3 separate regions of the Homo sapiens genome follow, and regions 2 and 3 are each linked to region 1. The links are contacts of gene promoters, found by promoter capture Hi-C in blood cells and fetal thymus (Javierre and others, 2016). All regions are on one chromosome and are shown on one strand. The core of a region is centred on a gene start or on the middle of the fragment in contact, and the rest is flanking DNA. Distances in the headings are between cores, read along the strand shown.

The links. The method cuts DNA at HindIII sites, captures the fragments that hold promoters and counts their contacts. A CHiCAGO score of 5 or more calls a contact.
Region 2: a contact is called between a fragment that was not itself captured here and the fragment with the promoter of SRP19 in region 1, in 1 of 17 cell types (non-activated CD4 T cells). The highest score is 5.4, in non-activated CD4 T cells.
Region 3: the fragment with the promoter of MAN2A1 here is called in contact with the fragment with the promoter of SRP19 in region 1 in 1 of 17 cell types (fetal thymus); the score reaches 6.9 in fetal thymus.

What each region holds. Positions count from the first base shown.
Region 1 is chr5:112,859,679-112,863,079 of GRCh38, forward strand. SRP19 (signal recognition particle 19) reads left to right here and starts at 1,609. Exons shown (of 5, transcript NM_003135.3): 1 at 1,609-1,739; 2 at 2,830-2,905. The coding sequence starts at 1,699. RefSeq lists enhancers at 1,374-1,668, 1,427-1,506, 1,607-1,906. The HindIII fragment of the contact is 2,166 bases long and covers 1,458-3,401 here.
Region 2 is chr5:108,369,302-108,372,702 of GRCh38, forward strand. The region is part of intron 1 of FBXL17 (F-box and leucine rich repeat protein 17); the gene reads right to left. Among named protein-coding and RNA genes, the nearest start is that of FBXL17, 11 kb to the right of the region's middle. The HindIII fragment of the contact is 2,402 bases long and covers 430-2,831 here.
Region 3 is chr5:109,687,776-109,691,176 of GRCh38, forward strand. MAN2A1 (mannosidase alpha class 2A member 1) reads left to right here and starts at 2,152. Exons shown (of 22, transcript NM_002372.4): 1 at 2,152-2,777. The coding sequence starts at 2,643. MAN2A1-DT (MAN2A1 divergent transcript) reads right to left here and starts at 3,324. Exons shown (of 1, transcript NR_186543.1): 1 at 26-3,324. RefSeq lists enhancers at 808-1,476, 1,236-1,335 and silencers at 1,446-1,735, 1,746-2,265, 2,296-2,505, 2,916-3,015. The HindIII fragment of the contact is 3,132 bases long and covers 1,009-3,401 here.

The DNA.
Region 1 (3,401 bases), core at 359-2,858:
AAGCTTAATCATTTCCATCTTTTGACATGTGAGACGTGTGACTCTTCCTTTCACTTGAATACTTAGAGGCCATTGTAGGGTTACTAACTGGCCTAATTTCAACATTGTTGTGTTTCAGGGAATAGGGACTCCAGAAGAGGGAGAGAGATGGGAAATGGCCAGTTGGTCGAACAGTTAAAACATACACAACATTTATCCATTAAGTTCCCCATCTTATCTGGGCATGGTTCATGGTGCCCCAAAACATTATTATTATTTGAGACGGAGTCTTGCACTGTCGCCAGGCTGGAGTGCAGTGGTGTGATCTTGGCTCACTGCAACCTCCACCTCCTGGGTTCAAGAGATTCCCCTGCCTCCCGAGTAGCTGGGACTAAAGGCCTGTGCCACCATGCCTGGCTTATTTTTTATATTTTAGTAGAGATGGGGTTTCACCATGTTGGCCAAGATGGTGTCTATCTCCTGACCTCGTGATCCACCTGCCTCGGCCTCCCAAAGTGCTGGGATTACAGGCGTGAGCCACCGCACCCGGCCTTAAAACTATTACAATAGTAACAGCAAACATCACTGATCACCGATCACCATAACAGAAATAATGAAAAGGTTTGAAATATTGCAAAAATTACCAAATGTGACACAAAGTATACGCTGCTGGAAAAATGGCACCAAGCAACTTCTTTCAGGCGGATTTGCCAAAAACCTTCCATTTGTAAAAAGGCAGTATCTACTCGCAGCAGCAAGTGAAGTGCAATAATGAAGTATGCCTGTAGTGATGGCACATGGTATCCTTCAGAAGTTTTAAAAGGTGAATAGTTTTGTTTCGTTTTTCCTAGACGGAGTCTTGCTCTGTTACGCAGGCTGGAGTGCAGTGGTGTGATCTCAGCTCACTGCAACCTCCACCTCCTGGGTTCAAGTGATTCTCCTGTCTCAGCCTCCGAGTAGCTGGGATTACAGGCGTGTGCCACCACACTCGGCTAATTTTTGTATTTTTAGTACAGACGGGGTTTCAGCATGTTGGCCAGGCTGCTCTCCAACTCCTGACCTCATGATCCACCTGCCTCAGTCTCCCAAAGTGCTGGGATACAGGCGTGAGCCACCGCACCCGGCCTAAAAGGTGAATAGCTAAGTTTCTAACGCAGAGCACACTGAAACACAACGTCTATAACTTTGCTAGTTCTACCACTACAAAAATCCATTTTGCCAAACTGAAAGCAAGCTCTAGAGCCCAGGAACGGAGAAAAATTAAACGTAAGGAGTATTTCCTTCCCTGTCTAACATATATTTGCATCCTGAACCACACAGATTCCCCTCGTGGCACAGTCTTCGCCCCTTAACAGAGAGTAGCTAGTACCACCCATACTCGCTGAGAAACTGGAAACGAGGGAGGGTCGAAGTTAAACCCTTTTTAGTGGCGGTGCATGCGCCCCACATGGTCTTCCCGGCTTGGGAAAGGAATGAGAAGCTTTCATGATTCTCTCGCGAGAAGGGAAGTCTTCATGCCACGTCAGAGACTAGAGATCCTGGCGCCGAGCGACAGGTGCCGGAACAAACAGGCGATGAGAAATCGCGGACGCGGAACCATTTCTTGGGCAGGACTTCCGGCGGAAAAGCGGGCTGTCTCGGAAACTCAGAGCCGGGTTCCTCCCGGGTTTCTGCCGGGTTTCTCCCTGCGGCTCCTGGGTTGTTGAGACTCTTGTGAAGATGGCTTGCGCTGCCGCGCGGTCCCCGGCCGACCAGGACAGGTGGGTTCTGAGGCGGTGGGTCCTCCGAAAGGAAGGGGCTTGCTGTGGTGCTGCAGGTGCTACACCGCGCTTCTCCGCTCCGCGGCCTCCAGAATGGCCTAGCTGATCCAACTCGCTCTGTACGGGCCCCGCGCCTCTCCCTGGCAGCTCGTTTTTCTGAATCCTGCAGCAGCCACCAGGCTCTTCTCAGGGCTCCTGAAATTCCGACCATAGGTAGCCTAGTGTTTATCTGTACGCGAGACAAGGATTTTGGGTGCTACGTGGACATGATATCAAGTAATATAATCACAGTGTGAGAAATGTGTTCTTTTTAAGTATTGTTGCGTTCAGAAAGGCTCATTTGTGAAATTTTAAGGTTTTTAATACCTCGGACACTTTATATAAGAGGGCGGGCCCATTCTCAGGAACTTTTGACGGGCTGCTCTGTCTAATGTAACAGTTACCCAAGTCGTTTTGTTTCTATTCCTGTGGTTTTTTTCCATCCAAGGTAGTGGATAAAGTTTATTTTTAAATAAGTTAAAGTGAGGTAATTTAAAGAAATAACATTAAGCAAATAATAGCATAGGTGTACCAGCAATGATGACGACTACCACGGACCGAAAGAATGTATTTTTGAAAATACTTGTTATCTGTTGAGTGTAGTTGTCCAGGTTCTTGGCGTTTTGAATAAGGAATTGAACAAAACACACAAAGCAAGGCAGCGAAAGCAGATTTATTTTAAACAAAAGTACACTCCACAGGGTGGGAGCCGGCTCCAGCAAGCTACCCAAGAGCTGTTGGTTACAGAATTTTCTAGGGTTTAAATACCCTCTAGACGTTTCCCATTGACCTGTGCCAGTCTGATTGGTTGAGGGAGGGGGATCAATCAGAAAGAGGAGTAGGCCCGCGGCCAGTCTGATTAGTTGCTCGAGGGGACCACTCCGAGGTACTTTGATTTTTCAACTGCCACGCAGAAAAAGGAGGGGTTGAAAAGGGAGTACCCATCTGATATCTAGGCAGCATGAATTGGCCTTTGGTTCCCTGCCACCCGACCCTTTTCTCCTGCCTCTTACTGCTCTAGTGATACCACTTATGCTATTGTCTATGGCAGGTTTATTTGTATCTATCCTGCTTATTTAAATAATAAGAAGACCATCGCAGAGGGAAGGCGAATCCCCATAAGTAAGGTAAGCAAGATGGCTGGCACCTTGATCCTCGAGGGAATGGGGGGTGTCATCCTGGTCGGGCCACGTAATCTTGTTAGAGCCGCAGGGGGTTCTCTTCACTGCATTTATTTAGGGCTTGAGAACACAGCCAAGAATTGGGGTGCGTTCCTCAGTGTTGGTGAAACCAGAAAGGCATTAATTCATAGCTGAAGGGATATTTTTTTAACGTCTCTTAATGAGCCTTTGTTTGTAAAGGAGTGGGGGCAGAGTGTAGAGTTCACATGTTTTTAAAACAAAGGTTATGACGGTGTTTCCCTTGATATAGGAAATCAAAATTATGACATTGTACGATACATTAATAATGTTCAGAATGTAGTTGAGATTTTTTTAAGTGTGTGAAGAAGACATGCAGAAAGTTCAGCCCTGTTGAGTTTTATTAAAGTGTCATTTGTATTTTGTAATATGACAGATTTAAGACACCTAGGTTTGATGCAGTGAATTCTCCCATGATGAGTAC
Region 2 (3,401 bases), core at 381-2,880, 4.5 Mb before region 1:
TCGAGTCTGTCCCTCCTTTCTGGACCGAACCAATGTATATCTTATGTCTCATGTCTCCCTAAAATGTACAAAACTAGGCTGTGCCCAACCACCTTGGGCACATGTTCTCAGGATCTCCTGAGGGCTGTGTCACAGGCCACTTATCACTCATATGTGGCTCAGAGTAAATCTCTTCAAATATTTTACAGAGTTTGACTGCTTTCGTCAACACTGGATAACGAATATAGGGGAAATCTCTGTACTATCATTGCAATTTTTCTATAAATCTGAATGTATTCCATGTCAAAACACCATATATTTTAAATATATAATATAAAAATAAAATTATTCCAAAATAAAATCTATTCTAAAAAATAATTTTTAAAAGTTACATCATAAAAAGATGGTTAGGGTCAGGATGAAGGCCAATACAAATCTTGGAAAATTAAAAGCTTTATCAACAAATACCATGTGTGGGCCACACTGAGATCCAGAATTGAACCAATTCTAAGAAGATACTTTTCAGACAATCAAATAAAACTGAATATAAAAGATATTAATTTAAAGGAATTATTAAATAAGATTAAACACTGAAACAAATGTGACCTATACATTTAAGAAAGATTAATAAAAACAAGTAAGATAATTATTTACCCAGTTATTCCAGTTCAGGGTTGCAGGTGACCAGAGGTCAGGGCACAAGGTAGGAACCAGCAATGGACAGGACACCAATGCACCACAGGGCACATGTACACTCACTCATACCGGGACCATCTAGACACATGCACACCTTATACAAAACCTAATGTACACAGCTTTGGGATGTGGGAGGAAACCAGAATACCCAGAGAAAATATGTGCAGGCATGGGGAGAACATGCAAACTCTACATAGACAGTGGGCCCAGCTACGAATTGTTTTGTTTTGTTTTTTTTCTCATTAACATTATAACACAATGATGTTGAACTAAAGGCTATTAGTCAAGGATTTGTTGTAATACATGATTTCAATTATAATTATTACCTAAAATGACTTACCTCTATATGGACAAAAGTTGTAAACATATAAGCTAGAATCTCTACTATGTTTAAATCTTGGGCCTCGGGAAAACAACTGCCTGTTACCTTCACAACCAGTTTTTCCTCCAACAAGTCTAGTGAGAAGTATAGAATATCATAAAAGTGGCAGGGCATGGTGGCTCATGCCTGTAATCCCAACACTTTGGGAGGCCGAGGCAGGTGGATCATGAGGTCACGAGTACAAGACCAGCCTGGCCAATATGGTGAAATCCCATCTCTACTAAAAATACAAAAATTAGACAGACATGGTGGCGCATGCCTGTAGTCCCAGTTACTCAGGAGGCTGAGGCAGGAGAATCATTTGAACCTGGAAGGCGAAGGTTGCAGTAAGCCAAGATTGCACCACTGCACTCCAGCCCGTGCAACAGAGCAAGACTCCTTCTCGGAAAAAAAAAAAAAAAATCATGAAAGTCACTAGCGAATTTGTCTCCCATGCCAGCAAACATGTATTAAGCCCACTACAGCCTTTTACTTGCAGGCATTACAACTAAAATATCTGGACAATATATTAAAAGCAATTGCCTCAAAACTCTAAAAAGTTAGTAACAAATGAATTGTGGAAGGGTGCCAAAATTTGAAGAATGGCCAATAACAAAGATGAGTTTCCTGGGTTTTTTTTTCTTTAATCCCCTAGTATGGAATTCAGGGTGGTCCCTGTACAGAAATGCACAGGAGGTAAAAATCAACAAAAATTCAGAGAAAAAGCTATCTTTCTGGACAAAGGACCAGGAAAATGGGCCTCTGCAAGACAGAGAATGTGAGAAGACTTGATTTTTGGTTTTCCTTTCTTCCCCTTTTCTCTTTTCTCCCTACTGGCTATGTCCCAAATGCTACGTCAGTAGCAGAGCTGCAATATAGACCCCAAAAGTAAACCCACCATTCTGGTCAGAAGAATTGGGGAAGAGAACTCTGTGGTCCAACAAGTAAACAAAGAATTCCCACTACTGTTTCTTAATTTTATCATAAAAGCAGCCCCAGTCATGCAAAACTACACAGCAGCACAGGTGGCTGTATCTCTGAGAGAAACTCCATCTTTCTAGCCAGATAACCAAATAAAGTTTTATTGGCACACAAAACATAAATGAATGTATACAACTATGTGCCAATAAAACACGATTTACAAAAACTGGCAGTGGATTTGGCCTGTGAAGGGCTACAGTTTGCTGGCCCATTCACAAGAAAAAAGGAAATGAAAAGAAACTGCCCATGAGAAAACCCAGACATTGGACTTACTAGACAAAGACAATAAATCAACAATTTAAGACATGCTCACAGAGCTAAAGAAAACCGTGGACAAAGAACTAAAGGAAATTATGAGAACCAAATAGAAATGTCTCACCAAATAGAGAATATTAATAAAAAGTAGAAATTATGAAAATAAATCAAATAAGAATTATAGAACTAAATTATACAGTAATGACATTTTAAAATTCACTACAGAGATTAAACAGATTAGAGCAAGTGGAAGTGTTATATAAATAAGCCAAAGATGACCTCTGTGTATTGGTTCCTAGGTTATTTCTTCACTGCAGGACGAGACTCATTAGCTCAAGAGCCCACTAGTACCAAACTCAAATTTTTACACATCCCATCATGCTGCTGAGTGACATCACCTAGACAGGTAAGCCTGCTCTCCAATTCTCCTGTTCCCCAGGGGTTGCCTTGCCCTCCTCCCCTTCTGTATGGCAGTCTACCTCGCTGTAAGCCTCTGCACAGCTTCATGCTGTAAAAGAAGTTTCCTCTCATATAATCCTGTCCAAGTGCCACCAAATGAAGCTTGTTGTGTGTTACCACTTCTTATAATCATATCTCTTTCTTGAGAAACATCAAAATCCCTTGAACCTCTACAAGAAGAAAGAATCAGCAAACCTAAAGATAGGTAAATTAAAATTACTGAGTCTGTGGACTGAAGGAAAATGAACATACATGTGGAACCCCACCAAACATACTAATATACATATAATTGGAGGCACAGAAGGAAAAGAGAGTGAAAGAGGCCTAAATATTTGAAGAAATAATGGCTAAAACTTTCCAAATCTGATGAAAGGCATGAATCTAGCTCATAAACTCAATGAATTCCAAGCAGGATAAATGCAAAAGGATTCATATCAAGATGCATCATAATCAAATTGTTGAAAGACAAAAACCGAGAGAACCCTGAAAGCAGCAAGAAAAATGCAACTCGTGAAAAGGACACTCAATACAATCAACAACTGATTTTTCACTGGAAACCATGGAGACCAGAAGGCAGTGGGATAACATATTCAAAATGCTGAAAGGAAACTGTCAACCAAGAATCCTCTATCTGGTAAAACAACCCTTTAAAAATAAAGGCAAAATTAAG
Region 3 (3,401 bases), core at 902-3,401, 3.2 Mb before region 1:
AATAACACCATTTTACACGAAAAACTCAGAATATGTGTGAATTTAATAGCAGTTATAATTCAGTAACATGAAAATTAAAATTTTGTTTGATTCTCAGCATAATTCTTGTTGCTACAATAAACCAGAGCTTTTGGAATTCTGCAGAATATCTCTGGTTCTCATACCATAACTCTGAGAGTTAAAAAACCTGTGCTTGTCATTTCTCTTTATAACCACTCAAAAGCACGCAAAAGAATCCATCCCACACCAGTCTTTCTAGTCATCTTTATAACCATAGCAGTCAAGTGTAGCAGCCACTTGGGGCCCCAAGGCACAGGCTTCAGTTGGCACTTCATCAGGATCAACCACAGGTAATTGCTTAATTGAGATGCCCAGCATGTCATGAATTACATTTCCCTTTGGCAAGGAGCTAAAGCTCAAAACCTCAATCAAACTGACCTTTAATCCCATCTTTGCAGGTCTATTTCTTGGGACTACTCCCGGGACAGGGAAGGCTTAATAAAAAGAATTGTTAACTATAATAGAGGATTAGAGTAATGAAGGATTCACTAGCAAGAAGAGAACTTTAAAGAATATAGCAACAGCAGCTATAAGGAGCTAACCTTATAACTAACTCTTGGGTTGAGAGACAGAGTGCCCAATGAAGAACCTCCCCAATTCCTCCCAGGGCTAAGATCTAGACGTTTTTGGAGAGGGCATGACCTGGCTCACTGAATGGCAGAGAAGTCACCATTGGGCTACGTCTGCAAAGCTTGTGGAAGATGTGCCCTCTGCAACTTGCTGCAAATGCCTCTAGGGTGCCAGGGAAGTTATTCATGGGGTAGTGTCTCACCTCCTCTACAAAGCTCCTAGAGTTGGGCATGTGAGAGGAAATTGCTAGTTACTGAGCACTATAGGACCTTGGCAGTGGAGAAAGCCAGGTATGCTGCAAAAGCTTATCAATACACAGAAATCAGGAAGCAAAATCCTTTTTTTCTGTAATGTCTCTTCAGCGCCCTCTGCTGATAAAGCTTCAGTCCCAGAAGGCAAACGAAAAACTGTTTAAAAGGCTCAGATCCGTTTTTACAGTGCAGTCAAAAAGGGCGAATTTGGAGCTGAGAGGCAATAAATCAATAACTGGCAGAAGCATCACTTCTCAGATTACACTCATGGATTTCGTAGTCAGATGTTTCTACATGTGCCTGGACGGCCCTTTGTCAGTCTCCTTTCCCCCAGGTTTTAACAGGCTGTCACCAAAGGAGGAAATAGTGAGCCCGAAGAGAATGTGCAAGCCCTCTTCTCTTGCATTTCCTCCAGCCCGTCACCAAGTACTCTTCCAGGCACGCCAGGCCCGAGTGTCCTAGGATAGGAAACCTGAGCAACAAAGGGAAGTGGGGTGTAAGCTCAACCCCTGTTGGACGTGGGGGTGCTGGCGCCTGAACGCCCCCGAAGGCCTCAACTCCCAGAAAGCTGCCTGCCAGGTCACAAGAGCCCTGTGAGGTCTTCCTATCGCCGGGACACTGGGAGGCAGGCGCGGGGCGGGTCCGCCGGGCGACGCGCTGTGATTGGGCGCCGTGGGGCCCGCCCCCTCATCTCGGAGCGTCGGGAGGGGGCGGGGCCAGCCGCCCGCTCGGCTCAGGCGCTGCGGGCGCCTATTGACCCAGCGGCTGCTGCGCCGCCGCTGTCTCCTCCTGCTCGTGGCGGGCGGTGCTGGAGCGCCAAGTGGCGCTGGAGAACCGGCGCTTCCTTTCGCCGCTTCCGCCGCCATCTCCGCGTTTGTGGGGCGGGAAAGAGGGAGGGGGCTAGCGGCTGCAGCTGGAGCGGGCTTCTCTCCGGGGACGGTCCTTTCCTCCCTGCTCTCCTTTTCCTTCTTTCCGCGTTGCCGCCGCCCGCCCCCTGCGCCTCCCCGCGGAGCCTGGGTCCGGGAGGGGGAAGGTAGGGGCGGCGGGGGGCGGGAGAGTCTGGCGAGCGGACGCTAGCTCTGAGGAAACTCATCAATCCGTGAGCCCCGGAGTCCGGGGTGCACATCGGCCCAGCCGCAGCGTCGGCGGCGGCGGCGGCAGCAGCACGAAGGGGCTCAGTCGGGGTAGGCGGGGGCGGTGCCGGTGCCGCGGGGGCGGGCCCGACCGTCCCGCCCAGAAGTTGTAGGGCTTGGCTCCTCGCGATCTTGTTCCTTTCCCCTCCGCTTCTCTGACCTAGCTGCGCGGCCCCGGCCCGGGAGCTGCCGAACCCGCGCCTCCCCTGGGTGAGGAGGACACGCCTGCCCTCGTCGAGAAAACTTTTCCTGCCGACTCAGTTGGGGCGGCGGTGGCAGGAAGTGCGGGCAGCGACCTCTCCTCCGCCTGCCCCGCGCGCCCTGCCGGAGGTCGGCGCTGAGCTTGCGATCAAGTTTGTGGGGGCCCCCCTTCCCAGTTGCCGGCGAGTCTCGCCTCGAGAGGGGCGCCCGACCCCGGGGAGGGCGGCAGGCCAGGGCGAAGGCCAAGGGCGTGTGGTGGCGCCGGAGACTAGGTGCGGAGCAAGGCGGGGACTCGCACCCGCATCCGAGAGCGCGGAGGTCGCGCAGCCCGGGAGAAGGGAGCCTCCGGCGGCTGCTTCCTAGAGTCCACAGTGCGCTGTCTCCTTTGGCTGAGGAGAGTGTCCTGGCCCCGAGTCTATCGAGGAAAATGAAGTTAAGCCGCCAGTTCACCGTGTTCGGCAGTGCGATCTTCTGTGTGGTGATTTTCTCGCTCTACCTGATGCTGGACCGGGGTCACTTAGACTACCCCAGGAACCCGCGCCGCGAGGGCTCCTTCCCTCAGGTAAGCACCTGGGAAGGGGGCGCGGGGCTCCGAGGGGCCAGGCGTGCGGGCCCCTGGTTAGCGGCTGCTACCCAACCTCTTCCTCCCGCCGCGGCCCCACACCCGTGCTGGGCGAGGCCAGGGGCTCTGTAGCTCTCGGACGGCAATGATCACCTCCTGGGAGCCACCTCGCCCGGGCGCGCCAAGTTAACAAAGTGCTGGGCGGCGTGCGGCGGCGGCGGCGGCATCATCCCGCTCAGGAAAGTGGCCATGTTCCGGCATTCGCACCCGGCCTGTTGGGGTGGCTTCGGGCACCTGCTGGCGGGGGAACGGGCGCGGCGTGAGGCACCCCCCGCCAGCCCGGGGCCCGCGTATCCCGGTGGGGTCGTTCTCGGCTCTCACAGGGTTAAGCCGCCCGCACCAGCCCAGAGCCCCTGAGCGCACGGAGTCGCGGAAATGGATCAAACCGAACCCACCTAGGCTTTTTTTTCTTTTTCTTCCCCGCTGCCTCTGAAGAGAGAGAAGTTTATTTCGTGTTGCGGCCCTTTTAGATGTGAATCTCTAGGTTGATTTTAGTGTCGTCATTCTTCAGCTATTACATCTGGTTTGTTTGTGGCAGACAGGGGGAACCGAGTGGGGAAGCGC